Regions from separate parts of the Homo sapiens genome. Here region 1 is linked to region 2. The links are contacts of gene promoters, found by promoter capture Hi-C in human tissues and cell types (Jung and others, 2019). All regions are on one chromosome and are shown on one strand. The core of a region is centred on a gene start or on the middle of the fragment in contact, and the rest is flanking DNA. Distances in the headings are between cores, read along the strand shown. Region 1 has its middle 6.4 kb from the start of CLECL1. Region 2 holds the start of KLRF2 (killer cell lectin like receptor F2).

Evidence for each region. The method cuts DNA at HindIII sites, captures the fragments that hold promoters and counts their contacts. A contact is called where the count stands out against the background at its distance.
Region 1: a fragment that was not itself captured here is called in contact with the fragment with the promoter of KLRF2 in region 2 in 1 of the 25 tissues and cell types used here (spleen).

Annotation. Positions count from the first base shown.
Region 1 is chr12:9,737,698-9,741,327 of GRCh38, forward strand. No RefSeq gene overlaps it. Among named protein-coding and RNA genes, the nearest start is that of CLECL1, 6.4 kb to the left of the region's middle. RefSeq lists a cis regulatory region at 2,742-2,994. The HindIII fragment of the contact is 3,083 bases long and covers 731-3,630 here.
Region 2 is chr12:9,879,717-9,883,627 of GRCh38, forward strand. It overlaps KLRF2 (killer cell lectin like receptor F2), which reads left to right and starts at 1,773. Exons shown (of 6, transcript NM_001190765.1): 1 at 1,773-1,949. The coding sequence starts at 1,880. It also overlaps a transcript of CLEC2A not described here. The HindIII fragment of the contact is 4,749 bases long and covers 1-3,911 here.

The DNA of each region.
Region 1 (3,630 bases), core at 1,022-3,521, 140 kb before region 2:
TTTCCATGGGGCATTCAATGTGAAGCTTTAAACAGGAAACTCACACCCTTAGCTTCTGAGAAATTTTTTTATACTTATTTCCTAATTTTCCTCGTATCTTTATTCTAATGTCTTTTTTCTAGCATTCCTTTTAGTGAAATATTAGTGCTCTTGGGTTGATATTCTACTATTATTATACTTTTTCTTTTATCTCTTCCTCTTTAGATTTTATTACCTAGGAAATTTCTCAAGTTTTTCCTCCACCCATTTTATAGAATTTGTTTTTTTATTTTCTTATAATTTTAATTTTCAAGGATTATTTCTTGTTGTGATCTTTTTTATAGTTTACTCTTTTTGTTTAAGTGATATACTATTTTCTTTCCCCACACCTGAGATTATGAATTATAAGAATATTTTAAGTCTTTCTTTCATTTTTACGATCAATTCTAATTTGAACTTCATCTTATGTGTACTTGTTTTGATCTTTTTTTTTTTTTTTTTGAGACGGAGTTCTGCTGTGTTGCCCAGGGTGAAGTGCAGTGACAAAATCTCGGCTCACTGCAACCTCCACCTCCCAGGTTCAAGTCAAGCGATTCTCCTGCCTCAGCCTCCCAAGTAGCTGGGATTACAAGCACGTGCCACCACACCCAGCTAATTTCTTTGTATGTTTAGTGGAGATGGGGTTTCACCATCTTGGCCAGGCTGGTCTCGAACTCCTGGCCTCAGGTGATCCGCCTGCCTCAGCCCCCCAAAGTGCTGGGATTCAGGTGTGAGCCATCGGGCCCGGCCTGATCTCTTACTTTTATTGGAGACTTTTCTAAATATCTAGTAGTCCTTAAGTGTCTAACAGCATGCAAGACTGAGGTACTAAATAAGCGAAGGGAATTTCTGTGTCTGGGATCAGTGGACATCACTGGATGTTCAGGCAGAAGTTATTTATTTCTTCTTAATCTCAATATTTGTAGGTCTTTATTATGAAGCAGGTCAGTTTTTTCAAAGAGAAATTCTCCAATTTTCTTCTTGGGTGCCTTAAGCCTGATTGTCGAGGATATTGAAGTCAATTAGGAGATGTCAAACTGTGTCCGGACTTGGTGGGTTCTTGGTCTCACTGACTTCAAGAACGAAGCCGTGGACCCTCGCAGTGAGTGTTACAGCTGTTAAGGTGGCGCCTCTGGAGTTTGTTCCTTCTGGCGTTCGGATGTGTTCGGAGTTTCTTTCTTCTGGTGGGTTCGGGGTCTCGCTGGCTCAGGAGTGAAGCTGCAGAACCTCAAGGTGAGTGTTACAGCTCCTAAGGCAGCGCGTCTGGAGTTGTTAGTTCCTCCCGGTGGGCTCCTGGTCTCGCTGGCTTCAGGAGTGAAGCTGCAGATGTTCGCGGTGAGTGTTACAGCTCACATAAGCAGTGCGGACCCAAAGAGTGAGCGGTAGCAAGATTTATTGCACAGAACAGAAGAACAAAGCTTCCACAGCGTGACCGAGCGGGCTGCCACTGCTGGCTTGGGCAGCCTGCTTTTATTCTCTTATCTGGCCCCCACCCACATCCTGCTGATTGGTAGAGCCCAGTGGTCTGTTTTGACAGGGTGCTGATTGGTGCGTTTACAATCCCTGAGCTAGACACAAAGGTTCTCCACATCCCCACCAGATTAGCTAGATACGGAGTGTCCACACAAACGTTCTCCAAGGCCCCACCAGAGTAGCTAGATACAGAGTGTCGATTGGTGCATTCACAAACCCTGAGCTAGATACAGAGTGCCTATTGGTGTATTTACAATCCCTGAGCTAGACATAAAGGTTCTCCACGTCCCCACCAGACTCAGGAGCCCAGCTGGCTTCACCCGGTGGATCCCACACCGGGGCTGCAGGTAGAGCTGCCTGCCAGTCCCATGCTCTGCGCCCGCACTCCTCAGCGAGTCGTCCTCAGTGGTCGATGGGACTGGGCGCCGTGAAGCAGGGGGCGGCGCTCATCGGGGAGGCTCCGGCCGCACAGGAGCCCACGGAGAGGGTGGGAGGCTCAGGCATGGCGGGCTGCAGGTCCCGAGCCCTGCCCCGCGGGAAGGCAGCTAAGGCCCGGCGAGAAATCGAGCGCAGCGCCGGTGGGCTGGCACTGCTGGGGGGCCCAGTACACCCTCCGCAGCCGCTGGCCCGGGTGCTAAGCCCCTCATTGCCCCGGGCCGGCAGGGCCTGCCGGCTGCTCCGAGTGCGGAGCCCGCCAAGCCCACGCCTACCCGGAACTCCAGCTGGCCCGCAAGCGCCGCGCGCAGCCCCGGTTCCCGCCCGCGCCCCTCCCTCCCACACCTCCCTGCAAGCTGAGGGAGCCGGCTCCGGCCTTGGCCAGCCCAGCAAGGGGCTCCCACAGTGCAGCGGTGGGCTGAAGTGCTCCTCAAGTGCCACCAAAGTGGGAGCCCCGGCAGAGGAGGCGCCGAGAGCGAGCGAGGGCTGTGACGACTGCCAGCACGCTGTCACCTCTCAAAAGCAAGTCTGTTATTCAGAATTTCAATTAATTCCTCTGTCTTTAGTAAAGCACGTCCTCCCTTAGCCTTGCCTAGAGACTCTTACTCTGAATTCAGGCTCCTTTTGGTTCAGTAATGCCAGGCAATAAACTTCCAATCTTCAGTAGACATACAGGGTTGCCGTTTGGTTGTTCAAGGGGCTCCTTGTATATATTTTCTACTAATTCCCCAGTTTTCCCCCATATTGAACCCATACGGTATTAGTTTTTTATTGCTAAATAACAAATTACCTTAAGCTTTGTGGTTTAAAACAATGCACATTTGTTATCTCATAATTTCTGTATGCCAGGAGTGTAGGCATGGCTTGGGTAGGTGCTACGCTTCAGAGACTCACAAGGCTGCAGTGAAGGTGTTGGCTGTGGCTCTCATCTCCTCTGAGGCTCATCTGGGGAAGGATCTGCTTCTAGGCTCACATGGTTGCTGGCAGCATTCACTTCCTTGTGGGCCATCAACTGAGGGCCTGAGTTTCTTGATGGCTACTAGCCAGAGGTAGCCCTCAGTTTCTTGCTGTAAGGACTTTCCCGACATGGCACCTTGCTTTCTCAAAGCCAGCCATGAAAAGAGTCCCCTCTGGCAGACAGTTATTATAATCTTAGGCACATTCCATTCCATTCATGTAATCATGCATATACCATTACCTTTGCTGTATTGTATTGATTAGAGGCAAATCACAAGTCCTATCCACATTCAAAGAGAGGAGATCACACAAGAGCTTGAAGACCAGAACACGGGGATGATGGGAGCCACCATAGAGTCTGTGGTGCATAGGGTCTCTGATGCTTTAGCGTCCAGGGAACTATGGCCTAAGTTACTGAACATAGTCCAAACTTTGTAGACATTTCTCATCTATGCCTAGTTGCTCCCAATCATTTTTTATTCTATTAAATGTTTTTATTAATATAATTTTTACTGAGACTTTAGAGAAAGCAGAAACAAATACATCTGTTGAATATTACAAATGTACCTGAAAGTACCCTATTGAATTTTTAGGTAGCCTTTGTTAGTTTGAGAATTAAAACAAAAAAACTTCACATCTATGAGAAAAAAAATCAGATATATTACTTTTAATGTTTTATTGAGTTTTCTTAAAGAGCAACCTAATTTAGAATATTAATCAATGAGTTTTCAAGGCCACTTGATATAT
Region 2 (3,911 bases), core at 523-3,022:
TAGGCAGTAAACCTACTACATATTTTTATAAGACATATGTTCACCACCATTAACTTGATCCAACTTGACCACTTTGACCCAATGAACCCTATGTTTAGAAGTGCACAGAAGCATTTTATCACAAACATAATTGTGCCATTTTGGAGGCAAGGCCTGAACAGTTCCAAAGAAGCACAGTAAACTGCATGAGCAGATGGCTCAGACTCCGATGGCACATGTTCGCATTCCTTTGCTATCTCCACCTCAACCATACCTATGACCCGGGTTGGGGATGGAAAAGAGGGTTCTGTACGATCTTACACTGAAGTAGTTGAAAAAAATAAGTTTATCAGTGGTTATGTAAAATACGGCAGCTGGAATAGATGCCACACTACAGTCCCATTCAGGAGAAGACTGTGAAAGACAGAAGTGAAGGTAAGTCTTCCCACTGAACAGAAGTTTGGACAATATGTCTGGTTGTGAACCTAACAGGAAGGATAAGCACTCAGAGAAATACATCTAAATCATCTTATCAGAAACTAATAGGTGAGATGACTTGTCGGAAACTCAAAAAGAACAAAATAGAAAAATGAATGAGAAGCTAAGAGGTACATATAGAGATCATGCAGAATGGACGCGGCGTGTGTAAATATTCATTCCCATGTAAATACTCACAAGTGACATCCAGTGTTGAGGAGGAGACTCAATAATCAGGTGAACACAACATGTGCTGTGGGAAACAGTCAGCCACCTTCCCCAGACACTCGGTGTTAAATCAATGGATTGATATTGAGTGGCCACGTAGCAGAAACAGAACCATTAGCATGTGTGTGTGTGTGTGTGTGTGTGTGCGTGTTAAGTGAAATATATATAAAATAAGGAATGTGATTATGGAGGCTGGTAAGTCAAAATTCTGCAAATGAGCATGGACAGACTGGGTACCTAGGAAGGCTCAATTCAAATGCAAAGTCCACCGTCTGTAGAATCAGGAGGAGCTAATGCTGCAGATAGTCTGAAGGCCATTGCTGGAGAATTCTCTCTCACTCAGGGAAGACAAGTCTTTTTGTTCTATTCAAGGCTCCAACTGACTCAATAAGGCCCAGTCACATTACAGAGGAGGCAAATCTGCCTTACTCAAAGGTCACCTATTTAAATATGAATCCCATCCAAAAACACCCTCACAGAAATAAGCAGAATGATGTCTGATCAACTATCTGGACTCTCTGTGACTCAGCCAAGTTGACACAAAATAAACTGCCACACCTACTGAAGGAAAATCTGCCTGGCGTTTTCTGAAAAACAAACAAACAAACAAAAAAGTTTAAAAAGTTAAATTCTTTGCAAGTGATTCCGATTTTCACTAACTTGAGACTTGCTGATCTTTTATTTTCCTATTTTTGTCCCATCTAACCATCGTTATTTGGACTCTACTAGTCAAATATGTCCCAAATAACAAAATTGCTATTTTAACTTTTTTAATTTGAATTTTTATTTACCTAGACATTTGTTCTGTTTGTTTAGAGATTATTTGTTTTATTTTATTTTTTCTCTTACTTTATTATAAAAGACATGAAGGAAGGAATTATGTTTCTAATACACCGCACACAAGTGGCAGGAACACACAAGTCCATTTGTTGAAAACAGTGGAACACACTAGCTACCTTTACCTTGAAATTCACAGAATTGTAGCCAGATATTAACAAGCTTATATCCATTTTCATTTACCAACACATCCTGTGTGGTTTTAGACATCTGTGTCTGAGTAAATTTTGACTATTTTTGGCCTTCCTTTTAGTTTTCTTTTAGTACCTTGTGCCAAAGAGACATATCCAAGGTTGAGATTAGTTTCCATTTTCTTTGTACTATTTTCTGGATAATAAGACATTAGACATTTGAAGAGATGGAGAATGAAGATGGGTATATGACGCTGAGTTTCAAGAATCGTTGTAAATCGAAGCAGAAATCTAAAGGTAGGAATACTGCTCCCCATCACCGCATTTAAAATTTCATTATTCTTCTAGGAAGAGAATTATCTTAGAATATTTTTAACATCTTAACATTGATCATAATAAGGAATATAAAAATGGTCATAAATTGTCTGTTAGATTATTTAGATTCATGAAAGCATCAACAATAAAAAGTCTGCATTTTCAGAGCCATGAGGTAAGAGAAATGCGAATATGACGATGTGTAATCCTGTGTGTTGTAGCATAAGAACATCACTTTCGAAGAAAAGGCTGAAAAATTGTGTTTTTACAGAAACTTCCTCCTACAAAACTTAAAGTTTATATAAACTTAAAGCGTATATATATGCTTATATATATATTTATGCTTATACATATATAATATTTTTAATCTTCGTAAAAGCCCTATAGGATTGGTAGAACAATCTACTGGGAATGCGAGAAGAGAGAAAAAAAAACAAAAAAACATTAATCTTTGCTCCTTAGGGCTGCTCTGTGGTTGGCTTTGTTTGCTTTTTCAGGAATTTTGAAAACAATCTTGTTGAAATAGCCAAGACCTAAGTTAAGATGACATAGGCCAGAAATTCAGAATTACCAGTCGCAGTGGCAGTTCTGCCATATGTATTGAACATTCTCGTGTACAATCTCATTTTATATCTAGCAAATGCAAACTTCCCCTGCACCCCCTGCCCCCACAAAATGACACTTTTGTTATTATCTGAAGACTCAGATCTTTTTTGTGTTTCAATATCATGAAACAAATGTTTACTTTTTCAATAGTAACTTACTTCCATGCAGCAAAAACTAGTACCATTGGTGTTAAATTGACTGAGGCAGACCAGGCACGGTGGCTCATGCCTGTAATCCCAGCACTTTGGGATGCAGAGGTGGGCGGGTCACCTGAGGTCAGGAATTCGAGACCAGCCTGGCCAACATGGTGAAACCCCGTCTCTACTAAAAATACAAAAAAAATTAGCTGGGTATGGTGGCGTGTGCCTGTAATCCCAACTACTTGGGAGGCTGAGGCAGGAGAATCGCTTGAACCCGGGAGACGGAGGTTGCAGTCAGCTGAGATCATGCCACTGCACTCCAGCCTGAGTGACAGAGCAAGACTCCATATATAAAAAAACAAAAAAAATTATTCAGACCCTAAAGCCCACAGACTAAATGTATGGCTCTGGGCAGAAGCTTTTAGCCTTCTTAAATCTCAATACTTTGATATATAATAAGAAAAATCTACCTGATGATGCTTTTATGTGGATGTTAAACTAAATTTACTATTTTTTAATCTATAAACTACTTTTTAATATACAAATGTGTACAGAGACTTAAAATCTGAGTATTGATACATAAAATATAAGATAATATCCATTTAAATTATGAATGAAGGAAGGATAGGGCTGGGAAAATAAATTGGGCCAGAAAAATTACTGTAGGCATGTTTGTGCTTGCTATACATTTGCTTCCAAGCTTCCTTGTTATTACTGACCTAAGGGAATTCTTACCAGTTGTTCAGTTCACATTGTGTATAAGATAAAGTTACACCTATTCCTTAAGATTGATATAATTAATCTTGATCCTAAATCAGAAAAAATATTTTCCTGAGTTCTCATGAAGCACATAAAATAATACAATTAGTGTTCTTGCAATAGTAGCACCAGCAGATTTTGTAAGACAATTTCTTCATATAGCCCTGTGTAAGCCAATGGCATCTAGCCAAGCAGTGCTAGGATAGGCCAGCATACTGCACTTCATGTACTCAGCTCTCTGTTCACCTGGCTTGATATAGTATGTAAATCATGGCTTACATGAAAATATTAATTTTTGGTCTATTGTTCAGTTTTTTATAAATCTTATTTGGCAAGAAGTTTAAAGTCTCCCTCCCTGGCATGTATGGAAAGAGCACTTGTTAACTACAGATCCATATACCCTTGATTGATATTTTCTCATAAAATTGCAGAAATGTAT